Regions from separate parts of the Homo sapiens genome. Here all the other regions are linked to region 1. The links are contacts of gene promoters, found by promoter capture Hi-C in blood cells and fetal thymus (Javierre and others, 2016). All regions are on one chromosome and are shown on one strand. The core of a region is centred on a gene start or on the middle of the fragment in contact, and the rest is flanking DNA. Distances in the headings are between cores, read along the strand shown. Region 1 holds the start of SPMIP8 (sperm microtubule inner protein 8). Region 2 holds the start of DOK4 (docking protein 4). Region 3 holds the start of CCDC102A (coiled-coil domain containing 102A).

Region 1 (2,704 bases), core at 55-2,554:
CAGGTTTTCACCATGTTGGCCAGGCTGGTCTCAAACTCCCAACCTCAAGTGATCTGCTCACCTCAGCCTCCCAAAGTGCTGGGATTACAGGTGTGAGCCATCGTGCCTCACAATATACTTTCATTTCTCTTGGGAAGCCTCCTGGGGTAGAATCTTCCAGATGACCCAATCATATGGTACATTTCTGTTTCATTTTTTAAGAAACTGATAAACTGTTTTAAAAGTAGTACTCCATGTCTTGACCAGGGTGGGTGGTAGTTATACGGGGTCTCATTTTGTAAATTATTAGTTACATTAGATATTTATTCACTTTCTGTATTTCTTCTATTTTATAACTTTAAAAGAGTCAAGAAATAAATTGGGGGTGGGGTGGTGAGTGGAGTCAACTCTGGGAAGGTTTTTTGTAAGGGGTAGCAGTTAGGAATGCTGTTCTGGAAGCTGTATGGAGCACTGGAGGAGGAGCAACTGGGGAAACAAATCCTACAAGAATTTCACAGGAGGGGCTCCAAGACCCATCAGGTTCAGCCCCTGGGCAGGTATATGCAAAAGCACATGCCAATATATGCAAATAAGTTAGGATCTCCTGGGGTTTCCTCACCTTGGGGGTCTGTCTCTAATGGTTGTGACCAGGATGGTGGGCAGGCCCCAGGGCTTTGGGGTGCTGGCCTTGGGCACTCACAGCCTGGCTTTTCTGGGAGCCTGCAGTCCTGCAGGGGCTGAGGGTGGAGTATCATCTGCTAATCCCTGGCCTGCTGAGTCCACCACTCTCCCTGATCCCCTCACGCTTACCCTGGATACTGGCCACAGCTAATCTCCACTCCTGGAGACTCAAGGGCTGGCAGACAGTGCAGTGCCCTCTTCCCTGAGGGTTCCAGGGAGGGGAGATCCCTCTCAGCATCCAGATCCTCCTAACGGCAGATCCTAGAGTCCTTGCCTAACACAGAGGAGAGCCTTGAGTCCCAGAGAGAGGCGGTAATTAGCCCAGGATTACACAGCCTGCAGTGGGCTCAGTAGCCATTTCTGGCCTGCCTTGGCCTGACTACCTCCAGGGAACCCCAGCTCCCCATCTGACATTTCCCAAGATGCCTGGCCTGTGCTAAGGCCTGGGAGACCACAGCCTTCAGGAAGGCTGGAAGGGAGTGGCCAGAGCACAGGAATTCTGGCACAGGCTCTTGTTAGAGCCTGTAGTTGCCAGGGTTGCTAAGGAGTGGGTGCCTCAGAATCAGGCTGCAATGGGCATTGTCTGTGCACAATGTTCCTTTATTCTGCTGCTGTCCATAATAAGGGCTCGTCCACCTCCCTTCCTCTTCTGCCCATTGAGCAGTCAAAGAACTGAAAGTCCTTATAAGCCTGTGCACCTGGGCCTGGGCCCTACAGATAAGGTAGCTGCTATTGGTGAGTCAGAAGCAGGGAGCCCTTGCTCTCTTCCCCATATCCGTGATCCCCCTCCCTGTCCCTCCCCAGGCAGTCACATCCCCTAAGGCAGCTTCCCCATGCCTTGTCACCATGCCCCCTCCCTGCTCCTCCATGATCTAAGGTCCTCTCTCCTCCTGCCACCCTAGCTTCCACCTCCACCTCTCACCTCTAACTCAGGGTCAGGAAGAAAGCAAGCTGTCTCAACAAATTCTCACTAAAGTGTAAATGACTGAAAGGCTCCTGGGACTATCTGCTTTTTAAAGGGAGGCACTGGGTATCCAGTAATGCTTTTCTAGTTTAAATATATCATGTTGCTCCCCTTCCTGAAAATCTTTCTGAGTCAATCTGTAGAATTTTGGGTAAATAGCTAGGGCAAGTCCATAATTATTCACCCAGAGGTATACGGCATACTAAGCTACATTCTGAACCCGCTTGCTGCTGCACTTTCCTGCTTATTATTTAAGAATAGACTCGCCAGGCAAGGTGGCTCACACCTGTAATCCCAGCACTTTGAGAGGCTGAGGCGGGTGGATCACTTGAGGTCAGGAGTTCGAGACCAGCCTGGCCAACACAGTGAAACCCCGTCTCTACTAAAAATACAAAAACTAGTCACATGTGGTGGTGGATGCCTATAATCCCAGTTCCTCAGGAGGCTGAGGCAGGAGAATCACTTGAACCCAGGAGACAGAGGTTGCATTGAGCCAAGATGGCGCCACTGTACTTCAGTCTGAGCAGAAGAGTGAGACTGTCTCAAAAAAAAAAAAAAAAAGAAAAGAAAGAAAGAAAAAAAAACGAATAGACTCAAATACCACCTCTTTTAGACCATTCCTTGAATGTCCTAACCCCAGCCTCCCCAGAAACACACACTCTGTACTGACCTCCCTCACAGCCATGGCACAATGTGAGTGTGTGTGTGTGTGTGTGTGTGTGTATGTGTGTGTTGGAAGGGGAGTGGGAGGGTTGTCTCTGTTATCTTCTGTTATCTGAATGTTCCTGCCACCTCATGCTGAGCTCCAGAAAAATGGCCTGGCACACAGTAGGTGCTAAATAAATGTTTGGCAAGTAGACATCGGCACTGGCCAAGGTTGTTTTCATGCAGAGAAGGGTGTCTGGCCAGCATGAGCCCAGGGTGAGCCCCTTAGAACCCTCTGCCCCCCAGCTATGGCCCGCATCATTGACCTGGTGCCCTGGGACGATGGCTCCACACATGTGTATGCCTCCCCGGCCATCCTGCTTCCCATGGAGCGGCAGCGCAACCAGCTGGCGGGCGTGAAGCAGCAGCTCTACC
Region 2 (2,704 bases), core at 205-2,704, 490 kb before region 1:
TCCTTTCTTCCACCACCACCAGCCTCCATCTGGCTGGACCTGGCTCAGCTTCCAGAGGTGCGTGAGCCACAGTGGGCTCCCAGCTCCTGGGTCTCAGCGCTGACTGGCATGGCCAGCAGGCTGTTGTTACTGGAGAACCAGCTGTGCCCAAGACCCGCAGTTTGGTTCAGAGCTGCCTCAGGGAAGAGCATGCTGCTGACATCGAGGCCAGGCCTAGTTGGGCGGCCCCACCTTGGCCAGGGTTGTGGGGTGAGGTCATGCCCAGCCCTGCTGCCCTGCCCAGGAGGGAAGTGCTGGGAGTAACCAGTACCAGCACAGCAAGGCAAGCAACTGGGGAGAGGAGGCACAGCTCCTGGGATCAGAGTTGGGGGTGGGGGCAGGAAGAGCCTGTACCAGCGCCACATCCCTCTGAAAGGGTCCAGGAAAGAACCTGCCCTAAGCAAGCCCACCTCACACTGCCCAAGTGGAGTCTCCTAGAGATACTGCCAGGCCCCTCGCTGCCCTGGCCATCAGACCCCTCCAACCCACACCCTCCATCCAAGCGGAAGCGCCCCAGCAACTGACGTGTCCCCATGGCTTGGGGCAGGCAGGCTGCACAGAGCCCCTGCTCTGCCACATCACCCAGGTGCCCAGCCTCGGCTCATGCCCCTTTTCAGTAATAGAAAGCATGTAACTGGATCTAGGGCCTTGCGGGCCCTGGGGGAGAAGGTGGACAGGACCTTGGGGGCCAATGGAGAAAGGTTCAAGGACAGGAGGCAGCTGGCCATGAGTTTGGGCTGTGGGGAGAAACCCCATAGGCAGGAGGGGGTCGGCAGTGGGGGCCAGCTGGGGTACAGAAAATCATCTCTTGGAATTTGGAGGAGGTGAGCGAACAGGAGGCCCCGGGGAGGAGCAGGAAGGCAGAGAGAAGGTTGGGAGCTGCCAGGGGCTGGGTTATGCCCCTTCCGGGGGGGCAGGCCCGGGAGCGCAGGGCCTGGGTTGCTCGGATGAGGTTTGTGTGGGTGCGGGTGAGGTCAGCTCGCGACCTGGGCTCCCCCGGAGAGGAAAGCTGCGGGTGGAGAGAGCGCAGGGAGTTTCAGGGCCCAGGCACTGGCTTTTGGGGGGCGGGTCTCTAAGCTCCCCACCCGAGAGTAGGAAGGTCCCATGGGACGGAGCGTCCTCAGGTTCAGGAAGTGACTGAGGGTCCTCAGGGGTGGGAGTCGCCGAGACTCTTGCAGGCTCTGGGCGGCCTATGTCCCCCTCCCTGCCTCACGCCCCCCAATTTACCTGGGCGCCGAGGCCCGGGCCAGGAGCGCCTGCTCAGCGGCGCCGCGGAGCAGGCTCATGCCCGCGTCACGGCGCGGCTGGCGGGGGCGGCAGGGCGGCGGCGGCGCCGGGCTCCAGGCGGGGACGGCGAGGGAGGCGCGGCCGCAGGGCTAGGGATCGGGCTCCGGCTGGGGCTCCGGCTGGGACTCCGCTCCGCTCCCCCCTCCGCCAGGTCTCGCCGCTGCGCCCCGCCCCCTGCCCCGCCCTGGCGGCCGGCCCCCGCCGTATTCCTCCGAGCCGCGGGACGCGCGATTCTGCCCTGGCGCCCTGGCACCCCCGCACCCGCTTCAGGTCGCCCCCGGTACCCCCAGCTCATTCCCACCGCCCCTCCCTGGGCCCCAAAGCCCACATGGCCTCTCAGCCCCTGAAAGCTGAACTCCACATCAGCTCCCAGCCCCCACATCTCAACCCCTTCACTTCTTCAGGAATCACATACACACCCATACGCCACATCAGCTCCCAGCCCCCATATCTCAATTCCTTCACTTCTTCAGGAATCACATACACACCCATTGCTCCCCTAACCCCATCATGACTCTCTGGGCCCTCACAGCCCAGCTCTCCCAGCCCCACAGTGACCTCCTCTGCTACCCCTCCTCAAGTAGCCGCACCAGCACCTCTGTCTTCCCTGGTCTCCTCTCCACCCTCAAAACATCCAGTTCTCCCATTCTAGGTCCCCCTGAGACTTTGCCCTCAAGCTCAAACTTCATTCCCCTTCATTGCTGCCCCCACCCAGCCCCCAACCCCCTCACCTCTGCCCTTCGGGCCTGTGCAGTGGTTGACTCACTGATCTGTCGGAATCCCCAGTCACAGGCCTCAGCTGTGCCAGGCAGGGACAAGAGAAGTTGCCCAGTGCCTCCTCTGGGGAGGAGCTGTCCCCCCTCTGGTTTTCACGTCTGTACCTTTTTACACCAGGGCTTCTCAAAGTGTAGTCCCTGGACCAGAAGCTTCCCATCACCTTGAAACTTGTTAGAAATGCAAATTCCCTGCCCTACTCAGACCTATGAAATCAGAATTTTTGGGGGTTTCCAGCAGAAATGTGTGTTTTAACAGGCCAGGTGATTCTGATGCACACGAATGTGTGAGAACCACTGCTTTAGACCATATATACAAAACAAAACAATAGGCCACCTGAACAGCCAAAATCCTGAGAAATGAAAATACCTCCACATCCAGCTACTGTCCAGGTGTCTCAGAGGAATAGGCCTAAAGCAGTGAGGGACCAAGGATCCCAACACCCACCCATGGAATGCATGCCCCTGCCCCGGAGACGCCTGGGCCTCAGCCTTGCCCAGGGAGCTTAAAAGGAGGCTGCCTCTGGATGTCTGAAAATTTCCCTGATGGTCATTGTGGTGTCTGTGATCAGCCTGAGCTAACCAGCCCCAGGCCCATGGCCAAG
Region 3 (2,704 bases), core at 84-2,583, 440 kb before region 1:
GGAGCTGGCTGGCGGGAAAGGAAGGGATGGCGGCTAGGCCTCCAGGCTGGACCTAAGCCCAGGGGTAGGCACCCCTGGCCTATTCCCAGGTAGCCCCATCTTAGACTGAGGAGCCACAGAGACAGCCTGGATCATTGATTTGAACTCCTTTCTTTACATATGGACCAACTGAGGCCCAGAGGGACAGCTACGTGTCTGTGTCCACACCGCGGACCAGCAGCAAGGCCAGAGTAGGGAGCTGGTGATGGGATGCCTCCTCTTCTGGATCTTAGCCACCTGAGGGGCACAATGCCCCCGAGAGCACCTACACGATGGGGTCTGCAGGCACCAGGCCAAGTGGATACGCACAGCTGGAATGGTGGGGTGAACCTTCATGGGGACCCAGCCCCACCCCGACCCCAGCCCCACCCCTCTCGGCAACACCGTGAACTCTTCACTCTTGTACAGCAGACATCCCGCTAGTCCCAGCTCCATCACTGATATGCTGTGTGATATCTGCAAGTCCCTGCCCTCTCTGGGCCTCAGTTTCCTTACCTACAGGATGGGGAGAGGCACTAAAAAGATTCCTGAACGCTCTAACAGGTGGGCAGACCTCCCGAACCCAAACCAATCCAACCCCCACAAGAGCCCTGGGAGAGCGGGGGTGGGAAGGTGGACACCACCCCCACCTAAGGTACTGAAACTGAAGCCCCAGCCCTGCGTCGCCTTAGTCCTCACTTAGTCGACCCCTCCCAAGCCGCTGGCCCTGCGAACCGCCCCGCTCCACCTAGCGACGGGCGGAGGGTGGAGGGGGTTCCCGGCCCGCGCCGCGCGGTCCCGCCCACCCCACCGCATGGCCCCCATTGGCAGTCGCCGCGGCTCTGGGCAGGGCGCCGTGCTCTGATTGGCCAGCGCCGCCCGTCCATCCCGCATTCGCCATGGCGACCACGTTGGGTCCCCCGGGAGAGTCCCAAATTCCGTCCCCGCCCGCCGCCCCCTCCCGTCCGGCCCGGGCCGCGGCATTCCGGAGGCGCCTCCCCTCCCCCATCACCCCGCGGCCCCTCCCCACCGGAGACCTGGGGTTCCGGGGGCTGAGGGAGGCCGGGGAGGCGTCTAGAAAGTTCTGCTCTGAGTTCGGGGGTTGCCGCGGGCGCCCCGACTGTGTCTGCTCCTCCAGCACGCCCCACAACTTAACCCCTTCCTTCCCGCGGAAGGCGCGCGGCCTGGAGCAAGTTCCCGGGCCGCCTTGGCCTGCCGCCCCCCGGCCTGCCGCCCCCGCTCACCTCGGGCCGGGACTTGCGGGCTCCGTACGTCCCAGCCGCTGCGGCGGGGTAGAGCGGGCACCGTGCAGCTGCGACCGCCGCCGGAGGGGCCGAGGGAGGGCCGCGGAGTCTCCTCCTCCCTCCCGGGGGGAGGGGAAGCAGGGGGAGCGGCGGGGCCCCCGAAGCGGTCGCAGGCTGCGGCCCCGCTGTGACCCCGGCCCACCGAGCTGCTGGGGTGGGGGCTCCAGCCTAACTTCGGGGCGAGGGGTGCGGGCCGGGGCGGTGGGCTCTGCTGCAGAGCGGGCCGTACCCCAACGGAGGCCCCACCCCCGTGAGGGGCCGAGAGTTGCGGGGGGGCTCGGCTTTCTTGGTTCAGGTTTCCTCAGCGCCAACTACGTACTAGGCGCCCCCAGCAGAAACGGCCACCGCGGGTCCCAGCTCGGCACGTGGAGCGAGCTTACCAAGTCTTCACTGTTGTTACCTGCATTTTTCCCTGGGCCAGCTCTGCCACCGAGTGGAAGTGGGCCAACAAGTCTGTGCCCATCGGGCCTCAGTTTCTCTTTCTGTACAACAGAAGGGTTGACGAAAGCAACCTTGCGCTTGTTAAGAGGTGGGGGGCGCGGGGAGCACTCGGCCCGGCGGGCGGAGACTTTTCTCTGCATTGCGATGGTGGTTGGCAGGCCCTGGGGAATTACGGTACTTCGCCTTCGGGGACGCCCAGCTGTTTTGGGGCTTTCTCTCTATTGGGGGTAGGATGTTTGTGGTCTTGACTGGAAAGCCGGGACAGGCGTCTGGAGGACTCCCCACTACATCCTGTACCCTGGAAGGCCCCCGAGGTGAATCTATTTAAAAGAAGACCAACAATTCACCAAGATGGTGGGGAAAACCTGGCCTGATTGGGATTTTACCTAGAAAAAGAAGCTAAATATTACGAAGATAAATTAGTTTTACCCCGTGATTAACGGAGTTTAGATTATGATTGCAACCACGCACGCCTTAAAATGAACCAAGAATGAATCAGATGTTAACACTGGAAGTCTTGCTTTTTCTTGTAATAGTTGAGTATGTAGCATCCTTCCCTTCTGAACTGGTTTTTGCAGTAAGAGATTCATTTTTGCAAAAATATTTGAGAGCTTCCTCAAACTCAAGGATCACTCTGAATCCTTTGATAGTCCAGTGCCTTTTTTCGGGTCTGGGTCACTTCCCTTGCAGACGTTCCCTTTCTCTGTGGGCAGCGGCTGTTCCATTTCTCCTGCTTTGCTTCCACCAACTTCATGAAATCCCATACGTTGCAAGACTGGCAGTTTCACTTGTCGATTCATTTGCTTTGTATTTGTTATGCGTGGCTGAATGTTGAAAGCGTCTGTTCACCAGCCAGAGATAGATAGGAGATGTATGTGGGGTTTGAGTACTCAGAGGACAAGGGCATCCACATTTTACAGCTGAGGAAATGAAGGCTCAGA

The links. The method cuts DNA at HindIII sites, captures the fragments that hold promoters and counts their contacts. A CHiCAGO score of 5 or more calls a contact.
Region 2: the fragment with the promoter of DOK4 here is called in contact with the fragment with the promoter of SPMIP8 in region 1 in 4 of 17 cell types (monocytes, erythroblasts, fetal thymus and 1 more); the score reaches 7.4 in monocytes.
Region 3: the fragment with the promoter of CCDC102A here is called in contact with the fragment with the promoter of SPMIP8 in region 1 in 1 of 17 cell types (neutrophils); the score reaches 8.8 in neutrophils.

The regions. Positions count from the first base shown.
Region 1 is chr16:57,975,240-57,977,943 of GRCh38, forward strand. It overlaps SPMIP8 (sperm microtubule inner protein 8), which reads left to right and starts at 1,305. Exons shown (of 8, transcript NM_199456.3): 1 at 1,305-1,395; 2 at 2,576-2,704. The coding sequence starts at 2,578. The HindIII fragment of the contact is 9,202 bases long and covers 1-2,704 here.
Region 2 is chr16:57,485,039-57,487,742 of GRCh38, forward strand. It overlaps DOK4 (docking protein 4), which reads right to left and starts at 1,455. Exons shown (of 9, transcript NM_018110.5): 1 at 1,267-1,455. RefSeq lists an enhancer at 708-1,504 and a silencer at 1,336-1,635. The HindIII fragment of the contact is 22,139 bases long and covers 1-2,250 here.
Region 3 is chr16:57,535,238-57,537,941 of GRCh38, forward strand. It overlaps CCDC102A (coiled-coil domain containing 102A), which reads right to left and starts at 1,334. Exons shown (of 9, transcript NM_033212.4): 1 at 1,263-1,334. It also overlaps a transcript of ADGRG5 not described here. RefSeq lists a silencer at 627-1,576. The HindIII fragment of the contact is 24,074 bases long and covers 1-2,704 here.